Linked DNA regions of Homo sapiens: regions 2 and 3 are each linked to region 1. The links are contacts of gene promoters, found by promoter capture Hi-C in human tissues and cell types (Jung and others, 2019). All regions are on one chromosome and are shown on one strand. Each heading gives the region's core, a stretch centred on a gene start or on the middle of the fragment in contact. The rest is flanking DNA. Distances are from core to core; before and after follow the strand shown. Region 1 holds the start of MYBPC3 (myosin binding protein C3). Region 2 overlaps AMBRA1 (autophagy and beclin 1 regulator 1). Region 3 has its middle 7.6 kb from the start of F2.

What was found. The method cuts DNA at HindIII sites, captures the fragments that hold promoters and counts their contacts. A contact is called where the count stands out against the background at its distance.
Region 2: a contact is called between a fragment that was not itself captured here and the fragment with the promoter of MYBPC3 in region 1, in 1 of the 25 tissues and cell types used here (pancreas).
Region 3: a fragment that was not itself captured here is called in contact with the fragment with the promoter of MYBPC3 in region 1 in 1 of the 25 tissues and cell types used here (aorta).

What each region holds. Positions count from the first base shown.
Region 1 is chr11:47,351,392-47,354,019 of GRCh38, reverse strand. It overlaps MYBPC3 (myosin binding protein C3), which reads left to right and starts at 1,318. Exons shown (of 35, transcript NM_000256.3): 1 at 1,318-1,397; 2 at 2,515-2,628. The coding sequence starts at 1,373. RefSeq lists an enhancer at 1,694-2,628. The HindIII fragment of the contact is 22,693 bases long and covers 1-2,628 here.
Region 2 is chr11:46,570,109-46,572,736 of GRCh38, reverse strand. The region is part of intron 1 of AMBRA1 (autophagy and beclin 1 regulator 1); the gene reads left to right. Among named protein-coding and RNA genes, the nearest start is that of AMBRA1, 23 kb to the left of the region's middle. RefSeq lists an enhancer at 1,710-1,839. The HindIII fragment of the contact is 5,695 bases long and covers 1-2,628 here.
Region 3 is chr11:46,710,264-46,712,891 of GRCh38, reverse strand. No RefSeq gene overlaps it. Among named protein-coding and RNA genes, the nearest start is that of F2, 7.6 kb to the left of the region's middle. The HindIII fragment of the contact is 6,245 bases long and covers 1-2,628 here.

The DNA of each region.
Region 1 (2,628 bases), core at 69-2,568:
TCGTAGGGACAAATACCCGCCCCACACCTCCTCAACCCCAGAGGGCTCACTGCAGCCCAACCCTGCAGCTCCCTAGTCCTACTGCAGGGCCACAAGAGAAGGCAAAATGGTGTTGTGTCTTCATTCTTCTATTTTTATTTTTTTTTTTTTGAGACAGGGTCTTACTTTGTTGCCCAGGCTGGAGTGCAGTGGCACGAACATGGCTCACTGCAGCCCTGACCCCCCGGGCTCAAGTGATTCTCCTGCCTCAGCCTCCCGAGCATCTGGGACTACAGGTGTGCGTCACATGCCTGACTGATTTTTGTATTTTTTGTACAGATGGGGTTTCATCATGTTGCCCAGGCTGGTCTCGAACTCCTGAGCTCAAGTGATCTGCCCGCCTCAGCCTCCCAAAGTGCTGGGATTACAGGTGTGAGCCACTTCGCCCAGCCCATTTTTATTTTTTTATTATTATTCTTTGAGATATTAATAATAAAAAATAATAATAAATAATATTTTTATTATTATTATCACTCTGTCACCCAGGCTGCAGTGCAGTGGTGCGATTTTGGCTCACTGCAGCCCGGAACTCCTTGGACTCAAGCGATCCTCCCACCTCAGCCTCCTGGGTAGCTGATACTACAGGTCCACACCACCACACCTGGCTAATTTGTGTGTGTGTGTGTATTTATTTTATTTTTTATTTTTTTAGTAGAGATGGGGTTTTGCCATGTTGCCCAGGCTGGTCTCAAACTCCTGGCCTCAAATAATCTGCCTGCCTCGGCCTCCCAAAGTGCTGGGATTACAGATGAGCCACCACACCCGGCCTAACATTTTTAAAATTATAAACCCACTTCATACGTGTGACAATCCTGTGCAGTGGGTGCTGCTTTCACCCACCCCGCTTTACAGATGAGGAAACCAGGTGCTTTGAGATTAAAGAGATGGCAGTGCTAGGACTCAGAGACACCCTGGCCCCAGGGTCTGTGGACATGACCACTGCCTGAACTGCCTGCGAGGATGCTCCTGACCCGTTAGCCTTAGGGTTATGGGCCCAGCATGCTCCCACCGTACAATTTGCTGTAAGAGGGACACACACGGGGCTTGGAGTACCCCTGAGGCTTGCCAAAGGTTGGGGAGGCAGAATTGTGCTGCGGGGGGTGAGGGGGGAAGGGACAGGAGCCAGCCAGGGACAATGTGGCCCTACCTTCTCCCTGGAGAGACCTCAGCTCTCTGGAATTCATCTATATTTAGCAGGTGGCTGGACAGGAGGCAGATAAGCAGAGCCTGGGGAGGGGGGAGGTCCCCATATATAGTGGGAAGGACAGGACCCCACTCAGTCCCTCTTTGGGTGACCTGTGCCTGCTTCGTGCCTGGTGTGACGTCTCTCAGGATGCCTGAGCCGGGGAAGAAGCCAGGTAGCTTTAGGACTGGGGTTGGGTCTAAGTGTGGGAGCAGGGGGGTGTCTACAATTGGGGAGCAGGGCTAGGAGGGAGTTCTTGAGGGGGTTGACGAGGACGTGGCCTCTGAGCCCCAGGACAGGGGCAGCCAGTCCTCCAGGGTCCTTTTTTGATTCTCGGTTTCTTTTTCCCATCCCTCTGATGAGAGGTGAAGGTAAACCCAAGGTCAGGGACGCAGAGAGGGGACACAGCCAAGACAGGAAGCACCCGGGGTCAACCCATTCTGAGAATGCAAAGGGACCCCTTCCCTGTCCCATTGCCTTCACCTTCCACAGCAAGGTTCCCCGCGGACAGAGCCCACGTTTAGTATGGAGCTGAGCCAGGCTCACGGCATGCCTTCAGACCAGTCTCTACCCACTATGGGTCTCAGTCTCCCAACCTGGGGTGCCGGGGGTGGTGGTGGCATTGGGTTGGTTCCTCCTGGCTGTGACATTATCTGCTTCATGAGCCTGTACGGTGTGGCCCCCATGTTGAGGGTGACACAGCCCCTCTTCTCTGAGAGAGGACAGTCAGGAGCCCCTGAACCCAGGCCAAGGGCAGGGAAAATCACAGCCCAGGGACCTGGGCCTGGGCTGTGCCCTTATGAAGGTTGTCCAGGGCAGAGATCCAGGTCCCCATCCCCCAGCGCCCTCCCAGGCCAGCTTTATCTCAGTTGCTGATACCCAGCCTGAGGTCCTTGGAGGACAAATTTGGCCACATTCCAAGTAGGCAGACTTCCCCGCCCCCTGCCAAGGGCCCGAAATGGTTGGGGGAAAGGGAGCTGGGTTCATCACGGGTGTCTCCAAGCAGGGAAAGTGGACACATGCAGAAAAAGTCTTGTTGGGAGGTCAGGACCACAGCCCTGGCTCTCCCGACTGCTAGCTGTGTGATCTTGGAGGAGCCGCTTAGCTTCTCTGAGCCTCAGTGTCCTCCTCTGAGAAATGAACAGAATAACTGCAACTACCTCAGAGAACTGGTAGAGTATTACGTGAGGGGATGCATAGAAAGTGCTAGCACAGTATTTACTGAGAGGGGCTGCAGGGGCGGGGTGCACGCTCCAACCAGGGGCCGCTGTAGCCTCCACCTGGCCCTTCAGTCTCAGCTTTTAGCAAGAAGCCACGGTCAGTGGAAGTGGCCGCAGGCAGCCCTGCCGTGTTCGAGGCCGAGACAGAGCGGGCAGGAGTGAAGGTGCGCTGGCAGCGCGGAGGCA
Region 2 (2,628 bases), core at 96-2,595, 780 kb after region 1:
TTGTAAGGATCAGAAATAACATGTAAAGTGCCTGGTTCAGAGTAAACACCCCAAAATACTAGCTGATTGTCAAGATGATGATGATAATGCTGACAATTTTTCAGTGGGTATTGACAGTTCCCTCCAATGCCTAAGAGCTTCTGCCATATCAAAGATAGGCAGTTCTTTACCTACTGTATGCACCTCATGGTGGGTGCTTAGTGTGCTCGTTTTTGATGAAGTTCGTTTTTAAACTGCTATGATTATTTACTCATGGATGTATCTATGATTGATTAAATGAGAAAACTTGGACTTCATTAAATTTATTGTTACTGGATTTAAAGCAGCAGCAGTGCAAAGAAACCCTATACAGTGAGTTAAGAGCCCTGGGTTTATGTCTAGAGATGCCCTTAGTGAGTCTTATAACAATGGACAAGTGAATCTAACTTTTTTTTTTTGAGATGGAATCTCGCTCTATCACCAGGCTGGAGTGCAGTTGCACGATCTCTGCTCCCTGCAACCTCCGCCTCCCGGGTTTAAGCGATTCTCCTGCCTTAGCCTCCCGAGTAGCTGGGATTACAGGCTGGCGCCACCACGCCCAGCAAATTTTTGTATTTTCGGTAGAGACGGCATTTCATCATGTTGGCCAGGATGGTCTCGATCTCTTGACCTTGTGATCCACCCACCTCGGCCTCGCAAAGTCCTGGGATTATAGGCGTGAGCTACCACGCCTGGCTGTGAATCTAACTTTTTAAGATATTGATTGATTGGGCAGGGCGCAGTGGCTTAAGCCTGTAATCTCAGCACTTTGGGAGGCTGAGGCAGGCGGATCACGAGGTCAGGAGTTCAAGACCAGCCTGACCAACATGGTGAAACCCTGTCTCTACTAAAAACACAAAAATTAGCTGGGCGTGGTGGTGCGCTCCTGTAGTCCCAGCTACTCAGGAGGCTGAGGCAGGAGAATCTCTTGAACCTGGGAGGTGGAGGTTGCATTGAGCTGAGATCACGCCACTGCACTCCAGCCTGGGGCGACAGAGGGACACTTTGTCTCAAAAAAAAAAAAAAAAAAAGATTGATTGATTGAGACACGGACTCATTCTGTCACCTAGGCTAGAGTGCAGTGACACAAACCATGGCTTACTGCAGCCTTGACCTTCCAGGCTAAAGTGGTCTTCCTGCCTCAGCCTCCTGAGTAGCTGGGACTACAGGTATGTGCCACCATGGCTGGCTAATTTTTGTATTTTTTGTAGAGATGGGGTTTTGCCAGATTGCCCAGGCTGGTCTCGGACTTTAGGGCTCAAACACTCCTTCTGCTTTGCCTCCCAAACCACTGGGATTACAGAAGTGAACCACTGTAATATGGCTACTTTTCAAGATTTTATGTTCAAAATGATCCCTAAGTCACTTTTAACTCTGTATATCCATGATTTGACAAAAAAGTTAAAGATACTTTATTTTCATTGCTAGAATTTCTAAAAATTACAGGGTTATTTTTGGAGAAGGAGCTTTGTGCTGACTTGAGCTGGCAAACTTCTGTCATACTTACTGAGTGATTTGTATAGAAGAACACTGGGGACCTTTTGCCCAGGCATAAGAATTGGTATTTGTCATTTATAGAATATCAGCGGAATTGAAGCCAGAACCATTGTAAGGAGGCAAATGTGAGAGATTATCTGTTGCTTTTGGGAAGATAGCTGGAGTTTTCAAACCATGCCACTTTGTACTTCCTTGAGGGTAACACTTGCCACATTTCAGTACAGTGGTTATGGTTACAGTATATTGCAGTTGTAGTCTCCCCACAAGCTCTCAGAGGTTAGAGGCCTTTTTTGTTCATTTATTTTTTTTCCAGTTCTCTATCCCTTTCTTGGAGTAGGGCTTGCTGCATCGTGTAGTCTTCCAAAAGTATGCTAAATGGACAAAAATAGTTGAACCAAGATCAGCAGATGTATTTAGAAAATGACTTGTGCCTACATGCTTGTTAACTGTCTTGAATTTTTTCTGTTGTCATGTGTTAATATAGAAAAACCTGATAAAGGGAAAAAACCCAGTGTTGTATCATTAACCTACAGTTTATCTCTTACTGGCTTAAAAAAAAATATTAACAGCAATCAAATTACTGTTCAATGGGGGGGCAAGTAACATCACGTTGAGCTAGGGTTTTGTCTGTAAAATGGGAGTGGAGTGGGAGGAGACTTTAGAGATGGGGTATATAAGGCATTGGCACTTAATAGTGGTCATACCTCGTATTACAAATGAATGTTTTTAAAATGATCAGCAATATACTTCACATTTCTACCTGAAGAAGGAATGTAATTTTGGAGAAGCTTATACATGGGAGAATTATCTCCACTTGTCATTTTCTGCTGAAAAGATATAATTTCGTACTTCTCCCTCTGGGCCCACAGGATAGTTCCATGGAGGAGACTTAGAGTGGGGATGGGCTCCTAGAGTAGCTGCAGAAGACCTTGCTTTTTTTTTTTTTTTTTTTTTTTTTTTGAGACATGGTCTCACTGTGTTGCCCAGGCTGGAGTTCAATGGTGCGATCTCTGCTCACTGCAACCTCTGGCTCCCAGGTTCAAGCGATTCTTCTGCCTCAGCCTCCCAAGTAGCTGGGATTACAGGCATGCACCACCATGCCCAGCTATTTTT
Region 3 (2,628 bases), core at 67-2,566, 640 kb after region 1:
TTTTTTTCTTGCACTACTAAAGTTGCAAATCAGGACAGAAGAGCTTTGATAGCCCTCGCTTTCTGATTTTGGGTTCAGCAGCTATAGACACTGCCTGGATTGACTTGCATCTGTGAAAAGGCTCCAGCAAAATCTTATTAGCGTCTTTGCCCTGTAGCAAGAAGCATCCAAATTCAGTATATACATCAAATCATTAAAAATGACCTATCAGGAGTGAATGAGAGGAGAGGTGTGGAATAAAGGGACTTTCAACATTATAATTAATAAAAATTATATGTGGTCAGGCGCAGTGGCTCACGCCTATAATCCCAGCAATTTGGGAGGCCAAGGTGGGCAGATCACCTGAGCTCAGGAGTTCAAGACCATCCTGGGCAACATGGTGAAACCCCGTCTCTACTAAAATACAAAAAATTAGCTGGGCATGGTGGTGCATGCCTGTAGTCACACCTACTTGGGAGGCTGAGGCACAAGAATCCCTTGAACCCGGGAGGCAGAGGTTGCAGTGAGCCAAGATCACGCCACTGCACTCCATCCTGGGTGACAGAGTGAGGCGGTCTCAAAAATAATAATAAATAAATAAATAGACTAGGCATGGTGGCTCATGCCTGTAATCCTAACACTTTGGGAGGCTGAGGTGAGTGGATCACTTGAGGACAGAAGTTCAAAACCAGCCTGGCCAACCATGGTGAAACCCTGTGTCTACTAAGAACACAAAAAACAGTCTGGGCATGGTGGCTCACCCCTGTAATCCCAGCACTTTGGGAGGCCAAGGTGGGTGGATCACCTGAGGTCAGGAGTTCGAGACCAGGCTGGTCAACATGGTAAAACCTCGTCTCTACTAAAAATACAAAAATTAGCCGGGCGTGGTGGCAGGTACCTGTAATCTCAGCTACTCAGGAGGCTGAGGCAGGAGAATTGCTTGAACCCAGGAGGCAGAGGTCGCAGTGAACTGAGGCAGTGCCACTGCACTTTAGCCTGGGCGATAGAGCAAGACTCCATCTCAAACAAAAAATCCATCTCAAAAAATAAATAAAATGAAAATTATATTGAAATCAGAGGAAAAAAAAAATAAAATATATATATATATATATATATATTTTTCAGACAGGGTCTTGTTGTGCTGCCCAGGCTAGAATGCAGTGGTAAAATCACAGCTCACTGTAGCCTTGAAATTCTGAAAATATTTTCTCAGTGAAAAAAAATATTCCAGTGATTAGTCTTTCCAAGAATGGTCTGCCTTTTATTTGAGCTGGAAGAGCACTAAATTAGGAATCAGAAGGCCGGAATTCTGTCCTGGTTCTGCTACTGACTGGTCTTCTGACCCTGGCAAGTGACTTGTGTTGTGGCCTCTGTTTTCTCATGGGTAACTGTAACATGAGGATCTTGGGAGATGCTGTGTAACACCCATTCTCACTTGAGCCATGCGTGTTGCCAGAGCAGAGACTCCCAAATCACCTGCCTTCCAATCCGTTGGCTCTGTCCTGACCCTGCTCCGACCCTGCTCCATGTACCATGTACCAGGGACGGCTTTAATGGAGGAAAAATTCTCCAATCTGTGTGGGGAATGTGGAAAGGGAGTGTGGGCATCTCAGCTGTTGGCCTGGGGATGCTGTGGGGTGTCAACAGGCCTCCCGGACAGCCCAGAGCATCCCCACGTCCTGCACAGTTCAATGTCAAGCAAGGAGCGTGTCCCCAGGATGCCTAAAACGCTAGGCAGACACTGCTGAGCAGTCCCCTGAGTTGAAGTGGGCCTGCCTGAGTCAGGAGCTGGAAAAGAAATTGAGCAGGTTCCAAGTCACAGGGTAGGCTGACTCAAAACTAATCTTAGCAGCTGTTTCTCAGGCTTTGGACAGTGTGGCCTTTCTCTTCACAGATCACCACGATTTCCTGCTGTCCTCCCGCCCCTTGGACAATTTTAGGTTTATGCTTTGCCAAGTTTTTCAGATTGGGCAGGCAACTGGGTTAATGTCAGTGGCAAACCAGGAGGCACGGGGCTGCCGGTGACATCGTGGTCAAGTGCTGGGAAGCCAGAAAACCACCCACATTAGAATCCTGGCTTTTGGCCGGGCACGGTGGCTCACGCCTGTAATCCCAGCACTTTGGGAGGCTGAGGCAGGTGGATCACTTGAGGTCAGGGGTTTGAGACCAGCCTGGCCAATATGGCAAAACTCCATCTCTACTAAAACTACAAAAATTAGCCGGGCATGTTGGCACACACCTTTAATCCCAGCTACTTGGGAGGCTGAAGCAGGAGAATCGCTTGAACCCGGGAAGAGGAGGTAAAGTTAGCGGAGTAGAGTTAGCAGAGACCGCAACACTGCAGTTCAGGCTGGGTGACAGAGTGAGATTCTGTCTCAAAAAAAAAAGAAGAATCCTGGCTTTGCCTCTTACTGATGGTGTGATCTTGTCATCCTCTCTGAGCCTCAGTTTCTTTTTTTTTTTTTTTGAGACAGAATTTTGCTCTTTTGGCGCAGGCTGGAGTGCAGTGGCGTGATCTTGCCTCGCCGCAACCTCTGCCCCCCGGGTTCAAGCGATTCTCCTGCCTCAGCCTTCCAAGTAGCTGGGATTTCAGGCATGCGCCACCACGCCCGGCTAATTTTTGTATTTTGAGTAGAGACAGGGTTTCTC